Regions from separate parts of the Homo sapiens genome. Here region 2 is linked to region 1. The links are contacts of gene promoters, found by promoter capture Hi-C in blood cells and fetal thymus (Javierre and others, 2016). All regions are on one chromosome and are shown on one strand. Each heading gives the region's core, a stretch centred on a gene start or on the middle of the fragment in contact. The rest is flanking DNA. Distances are from core to core; before and after follow the strand shown. Region 1 holds the start of GRHL1 (grainyhead like transcription factor 1). Region 2 holds the start of LOC105373421 (a long non-coding RNA gene).

Region 1 (6,376 bases), core at 1-2,500:
TGAAATATGTTTCAGGCAATAATTTAACTGCATATTCTACAACATAAGAGTAATCCATTTAAGATACTCCATACAAAATATCTATCTCATCCAGAAAAAGAACACACTGACAAAAACCGATCCTTCACAAATAACTAAGAAACTGGGAGGGGTACCTATCTGCCTTAAACTTCCTGATCTGAAATATACTGACTGGCCTGGTGCGATTTCCCTGTTTTTTCTTTAGTAAGTTTTTAAAATTTTTAGGACAATTTTATATTTTCAGAAAAGCTGCAAAGAAAATACAGAAAACTCCCTCGCCCAGTTAATCCCCCATGCCTTATTACACTACCACCTCACATTTGTCGAAATACGCTTTTAAATCACACACTCTAAAAAGCATATTAGCTTGTACAGTACTTTCTCGTTTAACACCCGGATTTCAAAGTTTCATCCTCTTGATTCTCTCGAGCACTAAAAACACGGTAATCTGTAATTACCATCAATGATGCAAGTGGCAAAATAACTCCTACAGCCGTTTTCCCACTCATGCCGCCAGCCAGGGAAAAGAAAACGCCCGGACATCGGGGCACTTCAACCTTTCCCTACATTTCTGTTTTGGAGGTTCCAGCAGGTCGCCGAGTGACGAGCCTGAGACCACAGATTACCTGGAGAAGTCCACCTGTCCCGACGCGGCGCGAGCCCCACCAGGCTCCCGAGGCCGACCGGGCAGGAGAGGGGGGCGGGGAGGCCCGGGGGCGTTGGCTGCGCCCCGACCTCGCGCCGCACCCGACCGCGCCGGGGGCCCGGACCCCAAGGTGCGCGCCCGAGGGGACCCAACCTGGCCGCGGAGGAGGGGAGGAGGGTGGCCCCTCCGGTGTCGAGTTTCCCCGAGGACAGGGTCTCTCCTCCCGAGGCTCCGACCGAACAAAGAGCACGGCAGGGCTAAGGGGCAAAGGCCGTGGCGGCGTGGAGTGGACAGCGGCCCCCGGCTCGCGCCCCGCGCCCGCCCGCCCGCGCGGCCTCGGGTCTGCGCCCGGCTCGCTCGCTGCAGGTGCGGCCCCTCAGCGCGGCCCCCCCGCGGCGGCCGGACTCCTGCGCCTCACTCACTTGTCGTACTCCTGTGTCATCGCGCCCGCTCGCCGCTGCCGGGCCGCAGAACTGGACTTTCGGGTTGGGACAGTACACCCGATCCGGGGGGAGGAGGCGGCGGCGGCGGCTGCGGGTCCGGAGCGGCGGCCCCGACGGGTTGGGTTTGCTTTTCTCGCTCTGAGCCGGCTCCGCGCGGGCTGCGCGCACTGGGCGCCGGGCTCGGCCGCTCATTGGCTGGCGATGCGCCGGCTGGGGGCGAGGCCTCGGGGCTGGGAGGCCGGTCGCGCCTCCTGATTGGTCGGCGAGAAGAGCGCCGGGGCGGGGCTGACGGGGACGAGCGGCGCGGGGCGGGGGGCGGGGGCCGCGCGTTCCGCGAGGTTGCGCCCGGGACTGCGCTCCCGGGGCTGCGCGCCCGACTCGCGGCCGTACGCGCCTGCCCTGACAGGAGAGGGAGCGCTGCGGCTGCGGCGCGCACCCGCCAACCTCCGCGCGCACCGAGAGCGCCCCCGCTCGCGCCCCGCCACCGCCCCCGCCGCCCCCGCCGTCCCCGCCGTCCCCGGCCATCCCCTTCGCGACGAGCCCCGGCCGTACAGCCGCCTCCTTCTTCGCTCACTCAGGCCTCCGCGCCCCGTGCCCACATTGCCCGCTGTTCCGGCCCCAGCGCCCCGCGCTGCCCCTGCGCTCGCCCGGCGGGGGCGCCTCTGCCGGTCGCCGCGCTCCCCGGTCGCGCGTCTCACCTCTCGGTTCTCGCAGGCTGTCACGCCCGAGTCCCGTGGCTTCCCCCGAGAGCCGTCTCCGGAATGTCCCTTCTCCTGGCCCACCGCGGCCGCGCGCTTTTAGGATTTCTTGCCCTCGCAGCTCCCGCGGTCCCCTCGGCGGCAGTCCCTGGGGCTCCGCGATGTCTGTGCCCCGCAGCCTCCCGGGCGCCACTTCCCCGCGCGGCCGCCCCACGCTGCCCGTGCAGTCGCGCGCCCCGGGCCGGCCCCGGGCACCACTCCACCGCGACGGCCCCCACTTGTCCTTCCCGAGCTGCCGTCTTTCCCAGGGTCCGCTCACTGAGTCCCCACATGCCCAGCGTCGGACCTGACCCTCGGACAGGCGCGGCCCCAGACGCCGGGGACAGGGCAGTCAACAGAACAGACACAACTCCTCGCCTTCCTAGTTGGGGTAACGGGCAATACAAAAACAAGTAAATGGTGTGGCTGGTTGGAAGGTAAAGCAGGCAGGCCCTGGGGAGGCGGGGAGGAGCGAGGCTTTCAGGCTTGAAGGAGATGAGGGGCCACGAAGGTGGGACTGTACCTGAGGCAGGGACCCTGGTGTGTTTTGTGACCCTTGAGGAGACCCGGGTGGCTGGTGGGGCACAGGGAGGCGGGAGCTGCGGTCAGAGATAGTGGGCGCAGGGGAGCGGATTGAGCAGGGCCTTGCCGGCTTCCGTAAGGACTGTGGCTTTCCCTCTGGGCTAGGTGGGGACGCCTTGGAGGGGCTTGGAGCAGGGTAGTGACAGGGTCTCACATTTTAAAATAGTTCTCTGCTGCTGCGTGGTGGGGACCAGGTAGGAGGCCATTGCCATGATGCAGGCCGAGGGCAATAGAGTGAGGTGGTGGGAAGTGGCCGAATTCTGGATATGCTTTGAAGGTGGGACCAGCAGGATTGTCTGAAAATTGGATATGGGGTGTGAGAGAAAGAGAGAATCAAGGATGACTACAGCGTTTCCAGCTGGGCAACTGGAGGAATGATTTGCCATCCCCTGGGATACAGAAGACCTGGGGCATAGAAGATTTGGGGGAGAACGAGAGTCTGTTTTGGACGTGCTAAGCTCAAGATGTATGGGAGATAAAAATCCATGAATCAGGTGGGCTCCTGGGTACGAGGCTGGAGTGCAAGGGAGAAGTCTGGGCTGAAGCTCACATCTGGGCGCCGCCCACGTCTAGAGGCCATTTAAAGCCATGAGAAGGCAGGAAGGAAAGAGGATGGGACCCATGCTGGATCCAGGAGCCTCCGACACAGAAAGGCTGGGAGGAAGAGCCAGTGGAGGAGACAGAAGACGGGGACACCGAGGTCGGAAGCAATGGAAGCGTGGAAGCCAAGGGAAGGAGGTGAAGTGAGGAGCAGCATGAGGTCACAGGGCCCTCCTGCAGCCAGCAGTCCCTCCTCTGTGCCCTGGTCCAAGGCCTTCAGGGACCGGAATCGGCAGCCTCACTTGAGACCGCCCTTCGCAGTTTCTGTCCTCTGACCCCGGGCCCAGCACTGGATCCATGCAGCCTGTTGTTTGTTCTTACCACTAGTTTCCTGTTTAAATCATTTATTATTTTTTTCTTTTCCTTTTTTTTTTTTTTTTTTTTTTTGAGGCGGAATCTCCCTCTGTTGCCCAGGCTGGAGTGCAGTGCCGTGATCTCAGCTTACTGCAACCTCTGCCTCCTGGGTTCAAGCGACTCTCCTGCCTCAGCCTCCCAAGTAGCTAGGATCACAGGCGCCCACCACCACGCTCGGCTAATTTTTCTATTTTTAGTAGAGATGGGGTTTCACTAAGTTGACCAGGCAGGTCTCAAACTCCTGACCTCAGGCAATCTGCCCGCCTCGGCCTCTCAAAGTGCTGGGATTACAGGCATGAGTCACCGCGCCCTGCCAAATCAATTATGTTTTCTAAGCACGCTAATTTAAGAAAAATGCTAGTCAATAACAGCACAGATGGTCCCAAATAGGGTACAAGTCATCAGGGTGGTGCCAAAGTGACTGACTTGGGAACAGTGTCCCTCTACCTGCCTTTCTTCTATTTCCTCTGACCCGGCTCCACACTGCCACTGGAGTGGCCTTTATAAAACACAGATTTCTTGTCACTCAGTTATACTCACCATAAAGTCCACACTCCTGAGCTCAGCCTCCCCTTGGCGGCCCAGCACTTCCCTTACTGCTCACTCCCAAGCACCGTCCCCGCATTCCCTGCTCCTTCCCTCCATGCTTGGCCCACTCCACTCAACTTCCAGCCTGGCTCATTTCCTCCAGGTGGCCTTCCCAACCCTCTAGGCTGGACAAGGTGTCCTGTGGGATCCACAGCGCCTTCTGCATTGCCCATCACCATGTTTGTCTTATGGGCTTTCCTGTTTGTGTCTGTCTCCACCAAGTGTGAGCTTTTCCAGAGAGGGCAGCGGTTGTACCACCTTCATTTTTATGTTCCTGGTGCCTGGTATATACATAGAAAATATCCAGCAAATGTCTACTGAATGGATGCAGTCCTCTGCAGGCATGCGTTCTGCGCCCAGTCTCCTCCCTTCTGTAGCATAGCTAGGGCTCTTTTAAATGACCCCCCCCACCGTTGCAGAAGATGAAAGTCCTTGAGCCTAATACATGGTAGGCACAAAATAAATAGGGGATGAATGAAGAAATATCCAATCATAAAGCCAAAAACAAGAACAGGAAGAGCCTGAGGTTATTAGACCATAGCTGTAGTAATTAAAAACATTGGGTCTATTTTGTCAATTTGAATATGGGATTGTTTAGTTTGTCTCTAATAGCTCTCTAAAACAGAAATGAAAATCTCTATCTATGACCTGTTGCCATGAACCCTGTTTATTTCATTTTATTTTATCTGAGACAGGGTCTCACTGTGTTACTCAGGCTGGAGTGCAGTGGCACCATCACAGCTCACCGCAGCCTTGACTTCCCAGGCTCAAGTGATTCTCCCACCTCAGCCTCCTGAGTAGCTGGGGCTACACGTGCACACCACCACACCTGGCTAGTGTGTATGTGTGTGTGTGTGTATGTTTTGTAGAGACAGGGTCTCACCATATTGCCCAGGCTGGTCTTGAACTCCTGTGCTCCAACGATCCTCCCATCCTCCCAGCCTCCCAAAGTGCTGGGATTACAGATGTGAACCACCATGCCTGGCCTACCCTCTTCATTTTTAAGTTCTTTACTATTTGTTTAAATTATTAAAGTAATATATGCACATAGTTTTTATGGAAGAAAAAATGCTGGGCGTGCTGGCTCACGCCTGTAATCCCAGAGCTTTGGGAGGCCGATGTGGGCAGATCACCTGAGGTCAGGGGTTTGAGACCAGCCTGGCCAACATGGTGAAACCCCATCTCTAACAAAAATACAAAAATTAGCCGGGCATGGTGGTGGGTATCTGTATTCCCAGCTACTCGGGAGGCTGAGGCAGGAGAATCGCTTGAACCCAGAAGGCGGAGGTTGCAGTGAGCCAAGATCGCGCCACTGCACTCCAGCCTGGGTGACAACAAGACTCCATCTCAAAAATAAAAAAAGATAGAAAGGGATTAGGAACGGGACAAAGAAAGGAGAAAGGAAGAAATTGAAGCTCTGCAGAAGGATACAGAATGCAGTCCCTGGCCTCCTCCATTCCCAGCCCCTAATCCTTGAGACAACCACTGTGAACAATTTGTGTTGATCTTTCCAGATATCTTCTGTCTGTACAAGCACTCACATGGTTTATTTTCTTAGACAAATGGGATTCGGACTGCACAATCTTCCACAGCTTGCTTGTTTTTCCTTTCTATGGTTTAAACATTTTCCACATCAGCACATAGAAATCTAGTTCACTTTAAAAAATGGCTGTATGGTGTTTCCTTGAATGGCTATATGATAACTTGAATGTATTGGTGAGCAATTAGGGTTTTTTCCCCTAGCTTTTCTTAATTACAAACATTCACAATAACACATTCCTCTAACTACATTTTTGCACACTTGATCAGGTATTGCCATAGGATAAATTCCTAGAATCGGAGTTACTGAGAAAAGGGAATGCACAGCTGCCATTTGGTTTTTTGTTTGTTTGTTTTTTGAGATGGAGTTTGGCTCTTGTTGCCCAGGCTGGAATGCAGTGATGCAATCTCTGCTCACTGCAACCTCCACGTCCCGGGTTCAAGTGATTCTCAAGCCTCAGCCTCCAGAGTAGCTGGGATTACCAGTACCTGCCACCACACCCGGCTAATTTTTGTATTATTAGTAGAGATGGTGTTTTGCCATGTTAGCCAGGCTGGTCTCACACTCCTGACCTCAGGTGATCCACCCATCTCGGCCTCCCAGAGTGCTGGGATTACAGGCATGAGCCACTGCCACCGCACCTGGCCTGCAGCTGCCATTTTCCTGGCTCTTGCCGGATTGTTTTCCAAAAGGCTGCTCTTATTTAGATTCCTACCACAGAATATCAGACTGCCTACCGTGCCGCACCCTAGACAACCGTGGGCAACATTGAAGTTTGCTTGGCTAGTCTATTCGATGAAAAATGGGATCTCGTTGTTTTGAATTGCTTTTTTTTTTAAGTTATGAGTGAGGTTTTTCATCTTTT
Region 2 (6,055 bases), core at 1,666-4,165, 140 kb after region 1:
ATTATCTTTAATGACGGTATTTCCATATTGACGCGAGGTGGGTGGGGTGTTGAAGAGAGAGGGAGACTCGAGACGGTGCATTGACTCTGGATTACATTAGAGGGGTTAGATGGATGAGTGTTAGTTACATCCCAATCAGAACATTTGCACCACTAGGTTTCACCAAATGCCAATCATACTGGACTGAGCTCCTCTGCTCCTCTCCCTGAAACATTAACAAAAAGTCATTAACAAAAAGCCTTCCTGTTCTGAAGGCAAATATCTATCTATCTATCTCATCAGTCTTAGGGCTGGAAGAGATGCAGCTCTGGGCTGGCTCTGATGCGGACTTGTCACAAAGGCTTGGGTAAGTGACTTCATCTTGCTAGGGAGAAATGGTCCCTTGTCCCACGTTCAAATGGTCGCCACCTTCCAGCTATAGTAGGATCTAGGGTGGGGGCAGAGCTGAAGGCTAACCCTGGGCCAATGGGTCAACATGATGTCATGTGCATTAAGCAGGAGATTGTCCTTGGGGACCTGAGAAGACGCCTAGGGTCAAAGGAAGCTGATTTTTCTGGTTATTAGAATGGTCCCATTTCTCTGATTTCAGGGACTTCAGAAGACTTCTAGATTTGGTCTCCCCAAAGCCTGAAATGTCACTAGGGGTCACCCCCTTGACTAAGAGTTTGCTTGCTGAGGGCTCCTGTTAAAATGCTCAGCGTCACCAAGCAGGGCTGTTTGCATGCACAACGCCTGCTCATAGACGCACATTCACCTGCAAGCTTCCCTGGCTGTCTCTTAGCAGAGCCTGGACGGAATGGGATTAGGGAGGCCAATTCTGAAAGACTGAGCCTGAGGCCGGGGGACAGGACATTGGGAGGACATGTCCTTGTATGGCCTGCTAGGGAGGGTGTGGCAGACAGTGAGGACAATGGGCGGGCACGCCAGGGCAGCAGACGGTGGCCAGCTGCTCTTGGAACCGTCCCTCTCCAGCCCACCTCTTTGTACCATGCTTCAGTGCAGGACACTCTCACCTCGAATATTGCAGCAGCCCCTTCCCTGGTCTCCCGTAGCGCCTACCCCGCACTGAGGCGTCCCTGGGGAAGGGAGAGGCCAGGCGGCTGGAGTCTGCTTCCTATGGGGGCTGCCCCTGGTCTCCGGCCTTCTCCCTTCTCCTCTCCAGTCCTGCCCTCATAGGTAGCGAGAGGGGTCGAGGGCCTTTAAGAAGCTTCCCGAGATCTTCTGAATCCTCAGCAATCTCCTGCCCTGGCATTCAAGGCCTGCCTGTCTAGGATCCTGTCTCTGCAGCTCTGCCCACGTGACCGTATCCTTGGAAGAAAAAAAAAATGGGGATGCACAAAGTGACCAGCACAGGGTATTCGTGATGACCGGGGAACAGAGATTGAGAAAGCAAGAGCCTTCCTGGCAAATCTGGGTTCAGACGCGGCAGAGGTGGGTACTGTGCCTCCAACACGTTTTCACAGCTCAGTTCTCACGGAGTCCCCATCACTGGGCTGACTGAGCCCCTCATCCTGAAAGGCCAGGGGGCCTTCTTTAGCGAGGCCGTCTCGCTCTCCGGTGTCCCCCTCCGCCCTTGCTGGTTCATCCAGAGGGGCCAGGGCGCTTAGCCCTAAGTGAGGGGTTGACGGCGCCACCTGGTGGCACCGCGCCTCCATCGCGCTGAACGCTGCTGATTCCAAAGCTTCGGGGCTCAGGGTCTCTGATGGGAAGACCTCACTCTTTCAGCCTGTGTGTCCTGGCTTCCCAGGCCATGGCAGTGCTGGGGCACTTAAAGTACCTTTGGGCCTCCACACAGACTTCTAACTCAGGGTGGACAGAGGAGAGAGCATTCTGGAACCTGCTGGGCTGTCCCAACCCCATCCCCTGGGAGTTTCAGCACAGGATGCACTGGGACTGGCCAGGCCTTTGGAGGAAGGGCGTGCCCGGGGGTGAGACCACAGCCCCCACTCGCCACGGCACCCAGGGGTTCCCAGGGAGCCTGGGCAGCCTGTTGGCCAGAGCTTGGGATGGAGGCGTCCCTGGGGAAGGGAGAAGCCAGGCAGCTGGAGTCTTTGCTTCCAGGAGAACCACTGGCAGCCTTCCTGTGGGTGCTGTCCTGGGATCGGGACTGGGCCTGGGTAGCATGCGTCCTGCCAGAGAGGAGATGTGGGCAGAGTTTGGCCAGGCCACTCAGGCATCCCTTTCCTGTGGGCGGGTGGGCTTCCCTTCCTGAGCCCCAGACGTGCGAGATCATTGCCAGGACTTTCTGCCAGCAGCCATGGCAGTGATAGGACACTGAAAGCACCTTTGGGCCCCCACCAGGATGGTGGACAGGGGTCCTTGCCACCCCCTCCTCCCCCACGCTCCCCCCACAGCACTGTCTGTTCCCTGGACGCTGTGCTGAACCTCTGCTCCAGTGCTCGTCTTGGCTCCAGCCTCATAGAATCGCCTTCCCTTTCTTCCCAACCAGCTTCTTCAGCTCGTCTTGGCTCCAGCCTCATAGAATCGCATTCCCTTTCTTCCCAACCAGCTTCTTCAGCTTCTTCTTTCTTCTTCTTCTTCTTCCTCTTCCTCCTCGTCTTCCTCCTCTTCCTCTTCTTCTTCTTCCTTTTTCTGAGATGGAGTTTCACTCTTGTCGCCCAGGCTGGAGTGCAATGGTGCCATCTGGGCTCACCGCAACCTCTGCCTCCCGGGTTCAAGTGATTCTCCTGCCTCAGTCTCCTGAGTAGTTGGAATTACAAGTGCCCGCCACCACGCCCAGCTAGTTTTTGTATTTTTAGTAGAGACGGGGTTTCACCATGTTGGCCAGGCTGGTCTCGAACTCCTGACCTCAAGTGATCCGCCCACCTCTGTGTCCCAAAGTGCTGGGATTACAGGCATGAGCCACCGTGCCTGGCCTTCCATCTAGCTTTGATTCACCTCAACAAACGTTTTCCAATTCCCATGCCCTGGGCCTGGGCGACCTGAATCCGTTCCAGCCCTGTGAGCTTATGGTGATGCTGGAGAAGTCAGGCGGGTAAACAGATCCTATCAGTGAAACTGCCCTTCCCTGAGTCAGCCTAAGCCCCACTTCCTCTAGGAAACCGTCCCTGCCCCACTGTGCACAGTTGGTTTGTTTGAGAGCAGGGAGACGCCCAGCTCCAGTGGGGGCTCAACAATGCTGCCCTAGCCAGGGAGCAGACACCTCACTGCTGCCATGTGTGGAAAGTCAGGGGCAGGGGACTTCTCTGGGGTCTGGTCTGGGCCCCTATGTGTGGCCCCTCGCTAATTTCAGGCCCAAGTGGCTGGGGCAGGCACAGGGCCCTGAGAGTCTGGGGGCAGCTTCTCCGAGCTCTCAGGCTGTGAGGGCCTGAGCGGCCAGCCCTTCTCCAGGGCAGCACTGGGAAGGGTTCACAGGCTTGCCAGGTTAAGGCCCGCCACCTGCGATAATGGCCCGGATTTGGATTCTGCTACTACAAGCATAAACATGTGACAGGAGGAGGCCAACAGCGGCTAACAGAGCAGTGGCGCCCGGAGCATCTGCCGGGAACCAGCAGGACACACAGGAGGGGGACACCGGGGCTCCCGGGGGGAACTGGCCCGGCCGCCGGGGCAGGATAACAGGACTGAAACGGGTCTGCCGGTTCTCTCTGGCCAGCTGCAGGACTTCCCACCCTTTTCCCAGTCAGGGAGTGTGTGATACTGCGCCACTGCCACAGAGCACAGACTGGGGTGGCTGAGACTCCGCCATTTACTCCCTCACAGTTTGGGAGCCAGGAGGTCCAAAATCAAGACAGGGGCAGGGCCAGGCCCTCTGATATTCTGGGCAGAATCCTGCCTGCCTTTCCAGCCGCTGGCCTGGCCGGGAGCCCCCGGTGTCCTGGCCTGCAGCGGCAGTGCCTCGGCCTCTGCCTGTCCCCACGAGGCGTCTCCCTGTGTGTCACTGTCCTCATGTACCATTGTCTTCCTCTTATAAGGACAGTTGTATTGGATGACAGTCCGTCCTAATGGCCTCATCTGAACTTGATTACTCTGCAAAGATTCAGTTTCCAAATAGGTTCACCTTCACAAGTACTGGGGTCAGGACAAAAACATCTCTTTTTGGGGGGCACAATTCAACCCTGAACGGGGGAGAAACTGAGCTTTGGTGAGATGAGGGGCAGAGCCTGGCACTACGAGTTCCAAGCTTGACGTTTCTTTCCAGTCCTGAGTTTTAGCTTAAAAATTCTTGCATTTCTGCATTATTCTCTATTCTGAGTCATGTTTGCTTTAACAGGAAATACAGTATGATTTCTTCAAATCTTTGCCACTTCAACATGAAGAAACGTGTTTATCCTGTGGCTCCAAAATCTTCAATGTGTTTCTGAATTTTCTCAAGGGAATTTCTCCCCAATTAGAAAAGTATAAACCAACCTGGATTCATGTAGTTCTCATAAAAATCCAGGCTAGGCACGATGGCTCAGGCCTGTAATCCCAGCACTTTGGGAGGCTGAGGCAGGTGGATAACCTGAGGTCAGGAGTTCTAGGGCAGCTTGGCCAACATAATGAAACCCCATCTCTACTAAAAATACAAAAATCAGCCAGGCGTGGTGCACGTGCCTGTAATCCCAGCTACTCGGGAGGCTGAGGCTGGAGAAATGTTTGAACTCAGGAGGCGGAGGTTGCAGTGAGCGGAGATCACACCACTGCACGCTAGCCTGGCCGACAGAGCGAGACCCCATCTCATAAAAACAAACAAACAAACAAGCAAACAACAACCCAGTGAAGTATGCATAGTTAACAGAAGAGGAAATCGAGAGGTTAATCTGCTAAGGTCATACCTCATAGGTATAGGATAGGTATACGTAGGGGAGTCCACGTGAGAATTCAGTTCTTTTTTGGCTTATTGATCAGGTTAGGGTTTTGTTTTTTTTTTTGGAGTCTTGCTCTGTCGCCAGGCTGGAGTGCAATGGCACAATCTCGGCTCACTGCAACCCCCGTCTCCTGGGTTCAAGCGATTCTCCTGCCTCAGCCTCCCCAGTAGCTGGGATTACAGGCATGTGCCACCATGCCCAGCAAATTTTTGTATTTTTAGTAGAGACGGGGTTTCATCATGTTGGTCAGGATGGTCTCCTGACCTCGTGATCTGCCCGCCTTGGCCTCCCAAAGTGCTGGGATTATAGGCGTGAGACAACGCGCCCGGCCTGTTTTGTTTTTTACCATAAGTGCATGATGAGGGGAGATGAGGAAAGGGGAAGAGAGAGAGAGCACTGTGACCATCCCCTAGCCCAGGAGAGAGATTTGTATGCCTGTTGTGAAAAGCAGGGATGGGAATTCTGAAATAAAAACACAGTTGGACAGTTTCCCACGGAGTGGTAACATAAACCCACCCAGGCCAACCATATTCAAGTGCTGTCTATCTACCCAAACGCCCATGTCAGAAATGCCCTCCGGTGCTTCCATGTAGAAGGGAGAGAAGCACTTTTACATTTTAGTTCTGCTTGTTATTTGGAAGTTATTTTAAAGGTCATTGAAGTGGGCTTTTTGTTGTTGTTGTTGTTAACAGACAGCTGTTTCCAGCCACTGCTATGAACCCATCTAAGTGAAATTGTGAGGACTAAGGAGAGAGGCACCCATGACTGCCTTAATCCACTCCTACCCATCGTCTCTTCACCCATCCACCCATCCTTGCTGCAGACCTTTACTGGGCACCTGTGCCAGGAGACCATCACTGCCCATCAGAAGCTCATACAGGGAGAAGCAGTGGCCACAGCAGAAGGCGTCCCGGGTCCTAGAGAGCACCTGGAGAACAAGGGAGAGCTGCAGAAACCGCCCTGTCTGCATGTGTGCCCTCATGTTCTTGGGTGCATGTCTGTGTTTGTGTGTGTGTTTGCTTATGTGCATGTGCAGTGTGTGTGTGTTCGAGACAGAGCGAGACTGAGAGTGCAAGTGGGTGTAAGCACACACACCCACCCGTCAGCCCTGCCTGTCTGCTCAGAGTTTTGCCTGTCACCCGGCCACGCCCTGTGACCCCCCTCCTCGGCTGGGTGCAGCCAGGACACCTGTTGCCAGCTGCGAGCACCTGCCTGGTTGCTGCGCCCGTGTCCTGTGCATGTTC

The links. Contacts are between HindIII fragments. The CHiCAGO score rates a contact against its expected background, and 5 or more counts as called.
Region 2: a contact is called between a fragment that was not itself captured here and the fragment with the promoter of GRHL1 in region 1, in 1 of 17 cell types (endothelial precursors). The highest score is 5.5, in endothelial precursors.

The regions. Positions count from the first base shown.
Region 1 is chr2:9,946,567-9,952,942 of GRCh38, reverse strand. GRHL1 (grainyhead like transcription factor 1) reads right to left here and starts at 1,250. Exons shown (of 16, transcript NM_198182.3): 1 at 1,090-1,250. The coding sequence starts at 1,109. LOC105373422 (a long non-coding RNA gene) reads left to right here and starts at 2,090. Exons shown (of 3, transcript XR_922784.4): 1 at 2,090-2,238. RefSeq lists silencers at 960-1,499, 1,590-1,639, 1,740-1,789, 1,940-2,019. The HindIII fragment of the contact is 14,804 bases long and covers 1-6,376 here.
Region 2 is chr2:9,809,596-9,815,650 of GRCh38, reverse strand. LOC105373421 (a long non-coding RNA gene) reads left to right here and starts at 934. Exons shown (of 3, transcript XR_007086206.1): 1 at 934-1,431; 2 at 5,504-6,055. RefSeq lists an enhancer at 5,709-6,055. The HindIII fragment of the contact is 2,463 bases long and covers 1,684-4,146 here.